Linked DNA regions of Homo sapiens: region 1 is linked to region 2. The links are contacts of gene promoters, found by promoter capture Hi-C in blood cells and fetal thymus (Javierre and others, 2016). All regions are on one chromosome and are shown on one strand. The core of a region is centred on a gene start or on the middle of the fragment in contact, and the rest is flanking DNA. Distances in the headings are between cores, read along the strand shown.

The links. The method cuts DNA at HindIII sites, captures the fragments that hold promoters and counts their contacts. A CHiCAGO score of 5 or more calls a contact.
Region 1: a contact is called between the fragment with the promoter of TRPV6 here and the fragment with the promoter of CLCN1 in region 2, in 2 of 17 cell types (neutrophils and monocytes). The highest score is 5.4, in neutrophils.

Annotation. Positions count from the first base shown.
Region 1 is chr7:142,884,006-142,887,134 of GRCh38, forward strand. TRPV6 (transient receptor potential cation channel subfamily V member 6) reads right to left here and starts at 1,740. Exons shown (of 15, transcript NM_018646.6): 1 at 1,384-1,740. The coding sequence starts at 1,631. The HindIII fragment of the contact is 18,692 bases long and covers 1-3,129 here.
Region 2 is chr7:143,314,113-143,317,426 of GRCh38, forward strand. It overlaps CLCN1 (chloride voltage-gated channel 1), which reads left to right and starts at 1,999. Exons shown (of 23, transcript NM_000083.3): 1 at 1,999-2,280. The coding sequence starts at 2,101. The HindIII fragment of the contact is 3,265 bases long and covers 1-2,815 here.

The DNA.
Region 1 (3,129 bases), core at 490-2,989, 430 kb before region 2:
TGATATCGCACACAGGGAATCTCCACCACCCCTTCCAATCCCCCAGGCCTTTTTGCACTCTGTGCCTGGATCCCCTGGCCCTGGGGTCCTAAGAGTGGGAAGAGGATGAGTGAAGCCAGTGAGGACGACCTACTCTCTAACAACAATGCCATTCTGTTGCCCCAAGATGTCATCAGCCAAACATGTGCTCCAGTCCCCACTCTCCCAGGCCTTGGGGGAGAGGTGGGCGGCTGGAGAGATGGGAAGCCATAATTCACAGAAAGAGACCATCCCCAACCCAGAATCCTTCAGCAAAAGAAAACACAGGGGCCTCCAGGCAGCCTCCCCGGTCAGGCTAAAGCAGGCTCCTACTCTTGGGGTCAGAGAAAAACCCTAAGGCACAAAGACTTCAGGCTTTCCTCTATGACCAGACATCTGCCTCCTTCGTGACCCAGGGAAAGCCCCAACAGGCAGGACTTCCTTCTAGCATGCCACCAACTGGGTAGAGAACTCTATTAGAGACCTTGAAGAAGAGACCACATGCAGGGATAGCCCTGAGTTCCGATTCCCTGCTCCTCTCCTGCTCTGTACTCCAAGCTGTCATGGTGAAGAAAGCAGGACACGGGTTTAGGAAGTTTTCAGGGGCTGGAAGCCACCAGTGAATGTCCTTAGGGCTTAAACGCTAGAGTCTCGATTTCCACCACCTGAATGCGGAAGAGCACAGGTCCTCGGAACATCTGTTATTTTGACCCGCTTCCCCTCAGTCCCCACCCGCACTGAGAGAGAAATACACCTCAAGGTTGGGTTTGAGCGTTGTAGGTCTTCATATCCCCCCAGTGCTGGGCAAATAGTAAGGCCTTGGTCAGTGTCTGATGAGACAGATACATAGGAATGGTCACTTTTTTCACATTTTGTCTTATTTTCTGGTTCCTGGTGTCCGCGGTTCTCTCTGCTTCATTCATTCAATCGTTCACTCATTCCTCCATGCGAACATATGTATACTATGTGTTCCTGCCAGAGAGACTGTTCTAGAGGCAAGCAGTGGAGATACAGAAGGCATTGTCCTCACCTGCCGTCCCCTCTTGGGTGGAGGGGCTGTGATGCTCTATCCTTACAAGCCCCAGCAAGACGCCTGGCCCTTAGAGAAGTACTCACAAGAGGCTTGCAGAATCGAATTAGATCTTAAGATAGTGAACACCTGTGCCCATCTCAACCCCATCCTCTTTCACCAGCCCTACAGGCTGAGGCTCTTAAGACAGAATGCTCCCAAGGAGCCAGTCCGGGCCTGGGAGCACCATCTGTCCAGCCAAAGGTGCCAAACAAAGACGGGAGGTGAGGGAGGGGTGAGGGGTAGAGGTGCAGGCCTGGGGAGGTGGGGAAGGGAGCAGACCAAGGGGGCCTTACCTCTTCTGCTGCAGCAGGTTCTGCTCATCTCGGCTCTGGGCCCAGGACTCCCGTCTCTGGAACCATCTGCAGAACTTGCTCCATAGGCAGAGAATTAGCCCTTTCTCCTTGGGCAGTGACAAACCCATGGGGTGTAGGGCCGGCTCCTTGGGGGCCTGAGGCCGAGGCCAGACCCTGACGGGACTCAGCCTTGGGGCCACATCAGCCCCCCCAAGGGCCGGCCCACCGTCTCCCTGTAGAGGTCCCGTCTCCTGTCTCCTGCCTTCCTGACGAGTTCCTTGGGAGTCTCCCAGCAGCCCCAGCCAGTTTGGAGAGGGCTGTGAGTTTGTTACACTTGGCAGAGCCAGCCAGGACTCTGCAGGGCTGGCCTGTCTGGAGCTCCTGCTGGGAGTGAGCAGGAGGAGCCAAAGCTGCACGGACACGCCCTCCCTCCTCCCAAATTACCTGAGATTTAAAGACACAGGCCAGCCACAGACCTGCCTACCAAGGGGGACTTGTGCCAACTCCAATTCTTTCTCCACCCAGGGCTCTCTCCCTGCCCCCAGGCCAGTCACAACCAGGGAGGCCTTCAGAAAGACTGGCGAGGCCTCCCTTGGACGTCAGAACACCCAGTGACCTACCCTGAGAGACTCTAGGCAGTGAGAAAGGAGGGGAGGAGTCAGGGCAGGCCCATTCCCAATGTTGAGGACTCCCAGGAGGGAGCGCCCCACTTTCCCACAGTGCCTCTTCTGCCGACCACCTGCCTCACTCTCTGCCTCCCCCTGCTTATGTCCTGGAGAATTCCATTTTCTGGACTCTTCCAGTTTCATTCTTGCCAGGCCTGAAATAGGTATATAAATTGCGAAGATACTCAGTTCTCCCAGACTTTCCTCTCAGTCCCCATCACCTTTGGGTCAGCAAACTTTTTCTGGAAGGGCTGATAGGAAATGTAAAGATGTTAGGTTTTGCAAGCCATGTACACTCTCTAATGTACGTTATTCTTTGGTTTTGTTTTGGTGGTTGTTTTCTAACCACCCCCAAAGATGTAAAATGCATTCTTCGCTCACCAGCCAGGGCACAAAATCTAGCTCTGGGCAGACCCCCTGCTCAGGAGCTCCACAGACTGTCCACAATGCCCCGTGCATGGGGTGGGTGCCCGATAAAATACAGGACACGTGGTCAAATTTGAATTTTAGATAAACAACAAAGAATTTTTTAGTATAAATATACCCCACGTTTTGCAAGTATTCTATCTGCCAGCCTTCCCGTGGAGGTGACATTCAGCTGCTACTGTGTGCTGGGCCTTTTAACTGAGCGTTCCCAGGTAAACTCGTAACAAACCTGCAAGGCAGGTATTATTATCTACATTGTATTGATGGGAGAAACCAAAGCTCACCATGGTAAAGGAACTCTCCCAAGGCCATAGAGGTGGCAGAGGCAAGATTCACACCCATCCCTCATTCCAAGCCCACTTCTTTCTCCCTAGCACACCTCCTCATTCTAACTGGCCAACAGAGCTTCAGAGAGGTTAAGTGACTCGCACAGTCATACAGAAGAATGATGGCATTAAGCATGGCCCATCGTCTTCCCACAACAAAGAGCTCCATCATGAGCTTGCTGGAAGCTGTCGGAAAGGTCATTTAGTTCAACTTTTCCACTGGAAAGGGGCAGAAGCCCGGGCTTATCCAACCTCCTGGTGCCAGCCAGGTGCCAATAGCCTAGGGGCAGGTGTCTGGGTGTTCAGAGTCACAGGTGTGTGGATCACTT
Region 2 (3,314 bases), core at 749-3,248:
TCATCCATGTTGTCACAAGTGGCAGGATTTTCTTCTTTGTCAGGGTTGAATAGTATTCCATTATATATATTTATATACACATGACATTATTCATCTGTTAGTGGACACTTAGGTTGTTTCCATTTCTAGGCTATTGTGAATAATGCTGTAATGAACATGGGAGTGCAGATACCTCTTTGAGATACTGATTTCCTTTCCCTTGGATGTATGGGAGTTGCTGAGTCATATGGCAGTTCTGTTTTTACCTTTTGAGGAACTTTTATACTGTTTTTCATAATGACTATACCAGTTTACATTCCCACCAACAGTGCACAAGGGTTCCCTTTTCTCTGCATTCTCACTAACATTTATCTCATCTTTTTATTTAATTTTTTTTTGAGACATAATCTCACTCTGTAGACCAGGATGGATTGCAGTGGTGCCTTCCCAGCTCACTGCAGCCTCCACCTCCCGGGCTTCAGTGATCCTCCTGTCTCAGCCTCCCAAGTAGCTGGGACTACAGGCGTGCACCACCACACATGGCTGATTTTTATAATTTTTATAGAGACAGGGTCTCCCCATGTTGCCAGGTTGGTCTCGAACTGCTGGGCTTAAGCATTCCACCCGCCTTGGTCACCCACATTGCTGGGATTATAAGCATGAACCATAATATCCATAGCCATAATAATGGCTATCTCTTGCTTTTTTGATAATAGCCATCCTAACAGGTATGAGGCGATATTGCATTATGATTTTGGTTTCCTGATGATTAATGATGTTGAGGCCCTAGAAAAAGTACTTTTAATGATATTGGCTTCCCTCCTGCTTTGGGTGGTTCCATTTAGCCTAGGTCAAAATCACATTGTAGACCAGATGTTTGGTGTCCCTACCCTGCAGTCCCTGAACTTGGACTGTCCTGGGACAGACCCCACTTGGTAATGCATCCTAAACTTTACTTTGGCTCAGTTCATATCTTTTCTCCTACAGTGAAGAGTTCATAGGGAAGACATGTCATAGGAAAATTGGTTTTATAACGTGATGCCAGGAAGAAAAGTTTGTCCTTGGCCAAAAAAGTATTTATTGACCTGAAAAGGGAAGAATAGCAGAGAGCACTTCCCCATCATCTTTCATGTTTGTCGGGCTTGTCATGAGAAGCCCTCACCCCTTTCCCACCTCTCCCTTCCCTGTGCCTCTTTCTACTTTCGATTCTCCCCTGTTATCTCCCTTGTTATCTATCTGATGGAGCCAGTGTGGGCACTCCACAGTCCAAATGGAAGCTCAGTCCCTCCGGGTTGGCAGTGTGGCTGACACCTAACAGTCTGGGAAGTGGGAGAAATTCTAGAACCCAAGGCTATTACCGACCCTCGACTTCCCACTTCCCATAAGTGTTCCACACCCAGTGAGTGATAAGGATGGGATCAGGGGATGCCCCCAAGCTGTTATTAGCAGCCTCTGGCAGACAGAAGGGCAAAGAGCTAGAGAAGAACGCTGGACATGGGATGGGCTGGCAGAGCTGGCCAGACAGAACCCTGGGTGGACACAGAGTTGGGAACAAGCTGGCCAGGAGATGTGGCAGAGAGGCACCAGTTACTTTCCCAGGTGAGTTAATGTGCCAGTGTTTCCAGAACTTCGAGTCGCTTCATCTTTATCCAGCACCCACCCCTCACCTTCCGCATCCTGAAGAAGAGAGATGGGCAACTGGAGGGCTTCCATGCAGATCCGGCTCTACACATAGGTTTGAGAGCATACTCAGCAGTTTCTCATCCTGGTCCAGGCGATATTTATAGAGGGACCAGTGACATGGAGCTGGAAGCCTACTACTGGTGACTAAGAAGGGGGACAATGCCACTGGCTCAGCAGAGGGAATTCCCTGTGGGGCTGTCCCTCAGGTTCTCATCCCAACCCCCACCCCCACACTGCACTCACACCTGCTTCGACCCCAAGCAGATCAGATGTGGCAGTGGGGGGTCATGTGACGGAGAGGGGTCTATAAATAGCTGGAGGTGGGCATGCTGCCCCAGACGCCTTGGGGACAGCAAGAGCAGAGGCTTAAGGAGCTACACTGGGGGAAGGACAGGGGCAAGCAGGCCAAGGCCTGGCCGGGGCTCGGGGGGAGGGAATATGGAGCAATCCCGGTCACAGCAGCGTGGGGGTGAACAAAGCTGGTGGGGTAGTGACCCCCAGTACCAGTATATGCCCTTTGAACACTGCACCAGCTACGGACTGCCCTCTGAGAATGGGGGCCTCCAGCACAGGCTCCGGAAGGATGCAGGCCCCCGCCACAACGTCCACCCCACACAGGTAAAGTGCTCTAAGGGGAGAGGGGAGCCATGGATGAGGGGAGACAGTGGTGCCAGAGACTGGTGAAAATGAGGAATTGGGTGAAAAGAGGGAGCAGTGTTACATTTTTTTAACTTAAAAAACAAGTACGTGGTGATGTGTTCAAAATATGAAAATCTTTGAAAGTCTGGGCTCACTTAAGTATGCACTTAGAGAGATATGCATGCACTTTCATACAACCTTTACCAACAGAGTACCCAAATCATATGGGGAAACAGCAGAGCCTCACATGCATGAATAGCTCGTGCTTACATAACCTACGTGGAGTGGATTGCGTAGGAGCCCACACTGCAGTGTGCTGGGAGCTGTCTCCCACACCCTCACCCACAGGTAGACACTGCCAGATTTCTGCCTCTGGGACCCTCTGCAGAATACACACAAACATGAATCTTTCTGCAGAAGGCAGAAGAAAGGAATTGGGCAAGTGTAGAAAACAGACTGAATTGCTTATCAGTGATCAAAGATCTACCAACGTCAAAATGAGCAGAGATGTACAAGCTTTTAGGTCGCAAGATGATCAAGTAAGAACCTATTAAGTGTTAGGCACCTGGAAAAGGGCAGAGATGTGATCCCAGCAACAGAAGCATGCAGGCTAATTAGGAGTGTCTATGGATGAGCAGCCTCCCGCTGTGGGATTGGTGGGATATGAACACCTAGGAAAGGGGGAATGGGGATGGGCACAACTAAAGGAAAGGTTGTGAAATTGTCATGGAAAAAGATAGGTCATGGTTAATAAGTAAGTGTGCCTCTCCCTCCAAAGAATGCAGAGAATAACAGAGGATAGAATTTGTCTAGAGGGCAGTTGGCCAGAACTTTTTTTTTTTTTTTTTTTTTTGAGATGGAGTCTCGCTCTGTCTCCCAGGCTGGAGTGCAGTGGTGCTATCTTGGCTCACTGCGACCTCCGCCTCCCGGGTTCAAGCAATTCTCTTTCCTCAGCCTCCTGAGTAGCTGGGATTACAAGCACCTGCCACCATACCTGGCAAATTTTTGTACTT